3 separate regions of the Homo sapiens genome follow, and regions 1 and 3 are each linked to region 2. Evidence: promoter capture Hi-C in human tissues and cell types (Jung and others, 2019). All regions are on one chromosome and are shown on one strand. Each heading gives the region's core, a stretch centred on a gene start or on the middle of the fragment in contact. The rest is flanking DNA. Distances are from core to core; before and after follow the strand shown.

The links. The method cuts DNA at HindIII sites, captures the fragments that hold promoters and counts their contacts. A contact is called where the count stands out against the background at its distance.
Region 1: a contact is called between a fragment that was not itself captured here and the fragment with the promoter of ZNF738 in region 2, in 1 of the 25 tissues and cell types used here (lymphoblastoid cells).
Region 3: a contact is called between a fragment that was not itself captured here and the fragment with the promoter of ZNF738 in region 2, in 1 of the 25 tissues and cell types used here (lymphoblastoid cells).

What each region holds. Positions count from the first base shown.
Region 1 is chr19:20,416,754-20,420,725 of GRCh38, reverse strand. LOC124904663 (a long non-coding RNA gene) reads left to right here and starts at 583. Exons shown (of 2, transcript XR_007067167.1): 1 at 583-599. It also overlaps the pseudogene ZNF826P and the pseudogene BNIP3P22. The HindIII fragment of the contact is 4,759 bases long and covers 64-3,972 here.
Region 2 is chr19:21,356,845-21,360,654 of GRCh38, reverse strand. ZNF738 (zinc finger protein 738) reads right to left here and starts at 1,655. Exons shown (of 5, transcript NM_001355237.2): 1 at 1,512-1,655. The coding sequence starts at 1,514. RefSeq lists enhancers at 1,294-1,593, 2,385-2,942. The HindIII fragment of the contact is 7,981 bases long and covers 1-3,810 here.
Region 3 is chr19:20,761,880-20,765,465 of GRCh38, reverse strand. No RefSeq gene overlaps it. Among named protein-coding and RNA genes, the nearest start is that of ZNF66, 13 kb to the left of the region's middle. The HindIII fragment of the contact is 4,086 bases long and covers 1-3,586 here.

The sequences.
Region 1 (3,972 bases), core at 1,194-3,693, 940 kb after region 2:
TTCTCCACCAGCCTAGGGTCTGGGCCACCTGTTTGTAATTTCATCTACCTGCATTCACACAGAAATAAATCAGAGTACAGCCCCACCTGGGCTACTATCTATAGTGAAAAGCAGTCCATGCACCTACATTGCACTCTCCCCCACCTTGGAGTATTTTTTTCTTTTAGGTTTTATTTGTGATTCGGTGTACATGTGTGGGTTTTTTATACAGCTAAAATTATGTCATGGGGGTTTGGTGTGCAGATTATTTTGTCATTGAGGTCCTACCCATAGTACCAAACAGGTATGTTTTCTGATCCTCTTAGTTCTCCCACCCTCCACCCTCAACTAGGCCTCAGTGTCTCTTGTTCTCCTCTTTGTGTTCATGTGTTCTTATTATTTAGCACTTACTTAAATAATAACATGCATTTGGTTTTCTGTTTCTACATTAGTTTTATTTATTTATTTATTTGTTTCATTTTGTTTTGTCTTTTGAGATAGAGTTTTGATCTTATTGCCCAGGCTGGAGTGTAATGGTGCGATCTTGGCTCACGGCAGCTTTTGACTCTCAGGTTCAAGCAATACTCCTGCCTCAGCCTCCCAAGTAGCTGGGATTACAGGTGCACACAACCATGCCTAGCTAATTTTGTATTTTTAGTAGAGACGGGATTTATCCATGTTTATCAGGCTGATCTTAAACTCCTGACCTCAGGTGATTAGCACACCTCAGCCTTTAAAAGTGCTGGGATTACAGGTGTGAGCCTCCGCACCCAGCCTTTGCCTACTTTTTTTTTTTTTTTTTTTTTTTTTGCAACAGTTTTGCTCTTGTCACCCAGGCTGGATTGCAATGACGTGATCTCAGCTGGCTGCAACCTCTGCCTCCACCTCCTGGGTTTGAGCCATTCTCCTGCCTCAGCCTCCTGAGTAGTTGGGAGTACAGGCACCTGCCGCCACGCCCAGCTAATTTTTGATATTTTTAGTAGAGACGGGGTTTCACCATGTTGGCCAGGTTGGTCTTGAACTCCTCTCAAGTGATCCACCCTCCTTGTCCCCTCAAAGTGCTGGGATTACAAGCGTGAGCCACTGTGCCCGTCCTGTCTACTTTTTAATGAGGTTGCTTGTTTTTTTCTTGTAAACTTGTTTAAGCTCTTAATAAATTCTGGAAAGTCGACCTTTGTCAGAGGCAAATATTTTCCTTTATTCTGTAGGTTGTCTACTCTGTTGATAATCTCTTCTGCTGTGAAGAAGCTCTTAAGATCTTCACAATTGAAAAATAGGTCCCATTTTTCAATTTTTGCCTCTGTTGCAGTTGCTTTTGGTAGCTTCCTCATGAAGTCTTTGCCAGTTTCTATGTCTAGAATGGTATTTCCTAGGTTATCTTGGAGGGTTTCTCATAATTTTAAGGGTTTTTTTGTTTGGTTGGTTTCTGTTTTTTTTTTTTTTTTCAGACGGAGTCTCGCTCTGTCGCCCAGGCTGGAGTGCGGTGGTGTAATCTCGGCTCACTGCAAGCTCCGCCTCCCGGGTTCACACCATTCTGCCTCAGCCTCCCGAGTAGCTGGGACTACAGGCGCCCGCCACCATGCCTGGCTAATTTTTTGTATTTTTAGTACAGACGGGGTTTCACCATTTTAGCCAGGATGGTCTCGATCTCCTGACCTCGTGATCCACCCGCCTCGGCCTCCCAAAGTGCTGGGATTACAGGCATGAGCCACCGCGCCCCGCCATAATTTTAAGTTTTACACTTAAGTCTTTAATTTATCTTGAGTTGATTTTTGTATACGGTATAATGAAGAGGTCTAGCTTCAGTCGTCTACATAATGTTAGGTAGTTATTCCAGCACTGTTTATTAAATAGAGAATCCTTCCCACATTTCTCTTGTCAGCTTCATCAAAAATCTGATGGTTGTAGGAGGGTGGCATTATTTCTGGGCTCTCTATTCTGTTGCATTGGTCTTGTGCACTCATGGATTTTTTTATAACATCTTTCTCTTTTCTGGTTTTTCCTTCATAAACATTCTGTCAAGTGCATAGAGTGTGCAAATTTCAGATGTCCAAGAGTTCAAAACTCTTCAATAAGTTCCAAAAAAATATTTTGCTATTCCCTCTTTGCTTAAGGGATTTAGATTATATATAGACAATTTTCTCTGCTTTTTTGAAATGTATGTAAATCATATTAACAGCTAAATAATGTCTTTTGTCATTTTTTCTTTTTCATTTTCTTTTTTTTTTTTAAGACAGAGTCTCGCTCTGTCACCCAGGCTGGAATGCAGTGGGGCAATCTCGGCTCACTGCAACATCTGCCTCCCAGGTTCATGCCCTTCTCTTGCCTCAGCGTCCCAAGTAGCTGGGACTACAGGCGCATGCTGCCACACCTGGCTAATTTGTATTTTTAGTAAAGACGGGGTTTCACCATGTTAGCCAGGATGGTCTTGACCTCCTGACCTTGTGATCCGCCCACCTCTGCCTCCCAAAGTGCTGGGATTACAGGCGTGAGCCACCATGCCCATCCCCTTTTGTCATTTTTCTGACTCCAGATTATCGTTATCTGGTACTTCAGATTTATTGGTTTGTTTTTGGTTCTGAAAACTTTATTTTTTTCATTTTTAGTCCTTTAAAATAGACACAGATTTGTTTAGGTAAAAGCTAATTTTAGAGCACAAAAAAGCTTAGCACAAAGATAGGATTAAATTTAGTAACACAGAATGGTAAACAATAAAAGATACTACGTTTCTTTGACAGAAACCTGATGATCTAAGGAAATTATCCAATATTTGCAGGCTGAAGTACTTGCACTGCAAAAACAAGAACAGTCTAGTGTATAAACTTAACAGTGGAGTCAGTAGTTGTACCTTGCTTTCTATTTATTACTTCAGAATAATTAGCATAGTTATACGTAATGTTTGTAGACAACCTGCATTTATATACATTTAACAGTATTCTCTTTTTTTTTTTCTTTTGAGACAGAGTCTCACTCTGTTGCTGAGGCTGGGGTGCAATGGCATGATCTCGGCTCACTGCAACCGCTGCCTCCCGGGTTCAAGCGATTCTTCTGCCTCAGCCTCTTGAGTAGCTGGGATTACAGGTGTGCATCACCATTCCTGACTAAGTTTTTGTATTTATAGTAGAGATGGGTGTCACCATGTTCTCCAGTTTGATCTTGAACTTTTGACCCAGGTGACCCACCCATTTCAGCCTCCCGAAGTGTGGACAAGGCATGAGCCATAAACAGTATTTTCTACAGTAACATGAATATAAAGCCGCAATACTTACTTTGAATGAATCACTTACATGGTTATTTTAATATTGTAATTTATACTTTTGAAATATAAAGTGTTTTAACTGAAGTATAGTTGCAATTTTTAAAACTACATATATTATTACTAGTTTATTAAAATTATTCATACTGATATTTATATCTAATATCTAAAGAAAATTTATTACCAAATTGTCACAGTAAGTAGATATTAGTGTGACATGTTTATTACTTTATTCAATAGGGATAATTATGAGTAAACAAAATTTTAATATCTTTTATTTCACTAAATTGGTATGCTGCTATTACATGACAAATAAAGACAGGTGATGTGGCCACCAAAAACCATAGTAGCTCTTCAGTTAGCTATGTTGCAAGTTCTAATATATTCCAATAAATGAACACAGTCAGATTCTATTTCTTCATCAGAAGGTGTTGTGGGAAGTTGTCAGATGTATTTCAATACAGAACCCCTATTCAATGACTAGGAGATGATGGATCAGCAGAGATAGAAAAGAAACTATAAAATTCTTCTGAGACTTTGCCCCTTTCTTCATAATGCTAATGTTTCTCATGCAGAGAGTAGCTGTGCACTTTGGGTGTTTAGAGAGAAATTGCTTTCAGGGGAATATTTTCTGGCTGACATCATCAATCTTACATCTAATCTGAGCTTTTTCTTAAGATAGTTTTAGCTTTTTTCTCTCAATCTTGCTCAGACGGAGATCTGTTTGTCTCTCCAAA
Region 2 (3,810 bases), core at 406-2,905:
TGGTGAAACCCCCGTCTTTACAAAAACACAAAAATTAGCCAGGTATGATGGCGCGCACCTGTAATCCCAGCTACTAAGGAGGCTGAAGTGGGAGAATTGTTTAAAACCGGGAGGCGGAGGTTGAGGTGAGCCGAGATCGCGCCATTGCACTCCAGCCTGGGAGACAGAGCGAGACTCCATCTCAAAAACAAAACAAAACAAACAAAAAAACACAAATACGTGATAATGTGAATTAGGGAGGAAAAGCTGGCATTTGGGAACCCCAGAAGAAATTGGAAATTTAGTATCTTACTGCAAGCAAGAATGAGGTTGGAGTAATGAGGGATGGGGGTTAGACTTAAGACCCTGATTGGGACCCAGGTGAAAAATGCAGCAGAAAATCAGTTCCCTGTGGAGTGTGAAAATAATTAAGTGGCAGGCAATTAGACTGAGGTTTCTCTAGTCCCTGGGTTCCTACTTCAATTTAAAAAATCTAACTCAGGCGCATTATTTTTAATTACTAAATTCAGAGAAACAAAATTGAGGCTTCACCTACTATAAACTGCCAATTGAGCTCCGATTACATAACCAGGAAATTTTCACCTTTAATGTACAAATTAAAAAACCACGTAACTGTACCTAACCAATTACTAAATTTGGTTTTCTTCATCATGCATTTTACAAAAGACTTTCTTTCAAGCCTCTCCCATAGACCACAAACTAAAAACCACAGCTTGGTGCTCTACAATTCTAGAACCACTTTTTGATTAAATTATTTAATAAGTTAATTTTTTTTTTGAGACAAGAGTCTCGCTCTGTCGCCCAGGCTGGAGTGCAGTGGCACGATCTCGGCTCACTGCAAGCTCTGCCTCCTGGGTTCACGCCATTCTCCTGCCTCAGCCTCCTGAGTAGCTGGGACTACAGGCGCCCGCCACCACGCCCGGCTCATTTTTTGTATTTTTAGTAGAGACGGGGTTTCACCGTGTTAGCCAGGATGGTCTTGATCTCCTGACCTCTGATCCGCCCACCTCGGCCTTCCAAAGTGCTGGGATTACAGGCGTGAGCCACCGCGCCCAGCCTAGAACCACTCTTTGATTAAATTCTTTTAATATTTTTGCAGTGACTCCCATTAACTTTTAATAGGAGATAATAGGAACTGGGAACCCCACGGAACAAACCTCTTCCCATTCATGAACCCGCACCCCAAGTCAGGATTCTCCCCTGACGACCCTCCCACGGTCCCTGCACAATCCGGTAGAGAAGCGGCGCTGCGGGTGCAGAGATTCCCCAGAGAGGGCTCCAGGCAAGGGCACAGTCACTATGCAGGGAAGAGACAGGACGCCCGGGGGCCGGGCTGTCGGCGCAACCGCCATCTTATGGCTGAAGGCGACTGAGGCCGAGCTGGGCAAGGAGAACTCGGGGCGCAGATTGTAGAGCTGACTGCGGGGAGGCCTGAGTCTCGCCACAGCCACTTCCCACCGGTTCCAACCAGCCCTTCCCCTCTCTCGGGATGTTGGACCCCGCACTCTCACCATTTCTAGGCTTCCAGGGTGTCCCGGCGTCTTAGCTGTGGATTCCCAATACCTGCAGGTCACAGGACCAGAGGCTGGGCCTCTAGGAGCAGAGGACACAGAGCAGTGAAGACGAGACCCGGAGTTCCAGCGGCAGCCAAAGACAAAGAAGCGGACAAATCCCGCCACATCCCGGAAGCCGTCCTCTCCGCTCAAGCTGCGTGCCTGATTGGACAGTTCCCAGCCCAGCGTCGCTGATTGGATAACGTTTAAAACCCCACCCTCTCAGGCCCTGACTGACAGAAGATGTAATTAGATGCTGGGCTGAATGAAGAAAGAGTGACCGCCTAGGCTGCAGCCTTTTCAGGCAGGGCTTCCTCCTTGAGCTGAGATAGGCCCACCCCAAAGGGTATTTGCATTCAACCTTGCGTATAAGGTCATATGCATTTGTAAATACTATATCATATGGCTATACATAAATGAAAAGGATATAATAACAAATGTTTTAAAATTTCAGGGTTTTTTTACTTTCCTGGCTTACGGTCCTTTGAGCAGGCAGCCTGAGATTTTAAAAAGGAGGTAATCCTCTGAAATAAAATGTGAGCCACGTGAATTTTGAATTTTCTGGTAGCCAAACTAGAAAATTAAAAAGAAACAAGGGGCCAGGCATGGTGGCTCACGCCTGTAATCCTAGGACTTTAGGAGTACAAGGCGGGCAGATCAAGAGGTCAGGAGTTTGAGACCAGCCTGGCTAACATGGTGAAACCACGTCTCTACTAAAAATACAAAAATTAGCCGGGCGTGGTGGTGGACATCTGTAATCCCAGCTACGCAGGAGGCTGAGGCAGGAGAATTGCTTGAACCCGGGAGGCGGAGGAGGTTGCAGTGAGCAGAGATCGCGCCACTGCACTCCAGCCTGGGCGGACAGAGCGAGACTCCGTTTTGGGGGGTGAAAAATATAAAGAAACAAGAGGCCACGCGCAGTGGCTCACGCCTGTAATCCCAGCACTTTGGGAGGCCGAGGCTGGTGGATCACGAGATCAAGTGATTGAGACCCTCCTGGCAATATGGCTAAACCCTGTCTCTACTGAAAAAAATATAAAAATTAGCCAGGCGTGGTGGCGCATGCCTGTAATCCCAGCTACTGGGGAGGCTGAGGCAGGAGAATCGCTTGAACCCGGGAGGCAGAGGTTGCAGTGAGCCGAGATTGCGCCACTGCACTCCAGCCTAGTGACAGACTGCAACAACAGCAACAACAACAACAACAATAACAAGGAACAGGTTGAATTGATTGTAACAATGTAATTAACCTAATATATACAAAATATCATTTTAATGTGTGAGGAATATGTAATTATTAATGAAGTATATAAATATTTGCAACTAAATTTTTGAAAATAACTCTGTGTTTTACCTTTCTAGCATATCGCGGTTCAGACCAAGCACATTCCAGGCACCCAGGAGCCACACATGGCAGCTCTGATGTCAATGGTGTGAAGGGCCAGAGGGGAAGGAAGGGCCTCTCCCTACTAACATCTATCTTCAGTTCTGAGGTTGGAACAGATAGTGGCCATAGAAAGAGCTGAGGGCAGCAGAAATAAAATAACCACAGGTAAACCACTGCTTACCACCTGTTGCCCACCTTTCTTTTAGAGATTAGGCTGTGAACATAGGATGATGGAGCTTAGGAGAAAAAAACTCTGTGTCTTCAGTTCTGCCCACATTCTTGGACTCCAGTGTTTAGATACAGAGAAAATAGATTAAAGGCAAACTTATTTTGCTATTTGGCCTTGACCCTAATTGCGAGGCTGTGGTTATCTGTTTTCTCCTGTGGTGTGGGGACTGTGCGAATATAAACACCAATCACATGCATACATGTCTCCCAGTATTTCTGCATTACCCAACATTCTCTTTCAAGACATCCAACTTTAAATTAGGGGAAGAAATCAGTACCTAGAGGGTGCCCACTGTTAGAAGGCAACAAGTAATCAACCTGTCACTGAATCCTGGCATCCTATCTGCACTGGTGCATGTATTAGTTAGCTATTGCAGCATAACAAATCATCCAAAACTTACTAGTTTATAATTAAGATGATCAGCCATTTAGGCTGGGTGAGTGGGGCCGTTCTTCTGGTATCAGCTGAGCTCTTTCAGACTGGTATCATCAGCTGCTTGTTGACTAGCCAGCTGTACTTCTGGGGGTGATCTTCTGCTTCTGGGGCTCAACAGGGGCACCTTGCTTCTCCTCCTCATGGTATCTTATTTTTAAGCTTGCTAACATGGGCTTTATTCATGGAGATTGCAGCATTCTGAACAAAAA
Region 3 (3,586 bases), core at 686-3,185, 600 kb after region 2:
TGCACTGGTTTTTTTTTTTCTTTTTTTGGATGCTGGTTGTTCTAGCAGTGAAGTTGTCACATGAAAGACTGAGGACTTCTGGTTAGCCAGGATGTTACAGGTGATGGAATTAGCTGTTGTTTTCTCCTTTATTGGAGTGAGGTTGTTCTTTTTTTTTTTTTTTTTTTTTGAGATGGAGTTATGCTCTTGTTGCCCAGGCTGGAGTGCAATCATGCGATCTTGGCTCCCCGCAATCTCTGCCTCCCAGGTTCAAGGGATTCTCCTGCCTCAGCCTCCCAGGTAGCTGGGATTACAGGCATGCACCACCAAGCCTGTCTAATTTTGTATTTTTAGTAGAAACTGGATGTGGTTTCTCTATGTTGGTCAGGGGGGTCTGGAACTCCTGACCTCAGGTGATCCACCCATCTCAGCCTCCCAAAATGCTGGGATTACAGGTGTGAGCCACACCACCTGGTTGGGGTTCTTTGATGAGTTGATGTAATGGCTTGAGTTGGTTGGCCTCCAACCTAGAGGTGGGATTTTCAATACGGCATCAGTTGTGGTAGTATAGGGTGTAGGCAAGCTTGCCATTGGGTCACCTGGATAAGTATTCAGGTTTCTCAGGCAATGGGTGGGAACATAGAGCTCCCAAGAGAGTATGTTTTTTGTCTTCAGCTACCAGCATGGGTAGAGTAAGGGCATCAGGCGAGGACAAGGTTAGACCTGTCTGAGCTCAGACCCTCCTTGGGTGGGGCTTGCTGCAGCTGCTGTGGGGTTGGGAGTATGGATCTCAGGCCAATGGAGTTATGTTCCCAGGGGGATTATGGCTGCCTCTGCTGTATCATACAGGTCAGGATGGAAGTGAAGGAAAGCCAGCAGTGACAGGCCTCACTCAGCTCCCATGAAGCCAGCAAGGCCAGTTTCATTCACACCCTACCCCACAAACAGCACCAAGTTTATATCCAGTCCGTGAGCAGTACTGAGATCTTGCCCCAGGCTATAAGCCTCCCCATTGAGAAAGCAACCTGGGCTTTCAGGCGCCACCCCTCACCACCTGCCATGGCTTTTGTGCCCGTATCTGTGCTTCTCATTCACTGTCCCCTCATCGATTCTGCCAAGGAACATTGACACTAGGTCAAAATTCTTACAGGGTTTAGCTGGAAGTTTTCTTCTCCCTGTAGCCCTTCCCCAATTCCACTGGCAGCCCTTCCCAAGGACCCCTGTGAGATAAAGTCAGAAATGGCTTCCCTGAGGATCAAGAGTGCCTATGGGGCTCTTCCCACTGCTTCTGCTTTTATATTTTGCTTGGCTCTCTAAATTCATTTCGGCCCTAGGTAAGGCTAAATCCTTCTCTGGTAATCTGGATTTTCAGGTTTTGAGTATGTGTGTTTAGAGGTGAATGTTCCTTCTCTTACACTTTTGGCACTTGCTGTTTTTCAGTTGTCTCGCAGAGGTTGCAGTGGCAAGCCACTTCTTTCAAAGAGTCTGTGCATTCTTTTGGTTTTCCTGGTATGTTCCTATGGTAGTTCTTGGAGTAAAAGTTCATGATGAGAGTCTCCACATGCTGTTCTGTCCATCCAAGCAGGAGATACAAATTAATCCTGTCTCCTGGCTACCTTTTTTTTTTTTTTTTGCCTTCTGAGAGAGAAATATTGATTGACCATCACAGATTTTAAAAAAAAGATCAGTAAGCATTCTCTCTCTTTCTTTATTGTTTCAAATAGAACTCTACTTTTTCTTCAGGCTACTGATTTAGTTTCTTATTATACATTTATTTATTTATTTATCTGTTTCTTATTGACTGTGCTCACCACTAGACCAACTGCAAATAATTCAACTGCAGAAATATAGGGTAAGTCTTTCATAAATGATTACTCATTAACTATAAATCCACAAAATTTTCATGTTAACATTCATCTGATCTGCCCTCATCTGGCCTGCTACAGAATGCTTGAAGTTAGATTAAAAATAATCTACCGATAAATATTCATTGATAGAACACTGAAAGGTGAAGCCTGCTGGTGAAAACATTGTTCCTTCATTACCAGAAATGAAGTAGATACATTTATTTCTTGACTTGGTATTATGCTTCATTTGTGTGTGTTTATTTTTATCCAGTACCATGCTATTTGCTTACTGTAGCTTTTTTTTGAGACAGGTTTCAGTCTGTTGCCCAGGGTGGAGTGCAGTTGCTTCATCGTGGCTCACTGCAGCCTCAACTTCACAGGATCTAGGAATCCTCTCACCTCCGCATCTCAAGTAGCTGAGACTATGGGTTTGTGCCATTAAACTCTGCTAATTTTTCTATTTTTTGTAGAGATGGTGTTTTGCTATGGTGCCAAGGCTGGTCTAGAACTCCTGGACTCAAGCAACCCACCTTGGCCTCCCAAAGTGCTGGGATCACAGGTGTGAGCCACTGCACCTGGCCTTACTGTAGCTTTGTAATATATTCAGAAACCAGGTAGTATGATGCCTCCAGCTTTGTTGTTTTTCCTCAATATTGCTTAGGCTATTCTGGGTCTTTCATGAATTGATAGAGATTTGATAATTACTTTTTAAATTCTGAGAAAAATATAATTGGAATTTTTATAAGGATTGCATTTAATCTGTAGATCACTTTGGGTAGTATGGACATTTTTACAATATTAATTCTTTCAATTCATAAGCATGGTGTATCTTTCAATTTTTTAGTTCCTTCAATTTATTTAATGTTTTAGAGTTTTTAGTGTATAGATCTTTTACCTCTTTCAATAAATTTATTTCTACGTATTTCATTCTTTTTTATGTTTTTGTAAATGAGATTATTAATCTCAATCCCTGTCTACACATCTATTCAACTTCAACAGATTTAGAGATTAAACCAAATACATGTGAAAATGCAGGAGAGGGAAGAAACTCAAAGTTTTCTAGTTTTGTAAAATACAGGTGCCCAGTTTAGCATCCTGTGTCATGCCTTGTGGTGCCAAGCATTGCATTAAGCTTAAACTTAAGCTCAAATTGACTTCTTATTTGGGATAACCCAAAGATAGAGAAATTCATCATCCTGATTTTACACAGATGGAGACGGCTGCTTAGAGAGAATAAATGAATATACAGAATCACATGGCTGGTACACAGTAAACTGGAACTTCTAGAAGAAACCATCTGACCTTGAACTTGAAATGAGCTGGGCAGCTTCTTACCATCTGTCTATGAAAAGGCCAGAGATACCAGAGGGTGGCCTTTGAGTCTTTGGTGAATAGGTGAAAACTTCAAATGTTGATACTCAGGAGAAAGGAGTTAGATTGACCCAACACTTGATGGAACACTTATTTTTAACTTAATGCAGCCATAAAAGTGTTTATAACATTTGGGGCTTTGAGTTCTTCAATTAAGGCAGAATTTCTATAGAGTATACTTTTCCCTATAAAATGTATTTAGCCATTGATAACTCTATGTAGCTCTGTGAAATATGTGCTTATTAGACAGATCAGGTGTTTTGGCTAAGAATAAGATGAATAATTGTGTTTGTAATAAAATATATTTATAAATAATTTTGATTCTGAATATTTAAAAACTATTAACTATTGTTTGAATATGTCTTTGTCCAAAACATATATATACATTT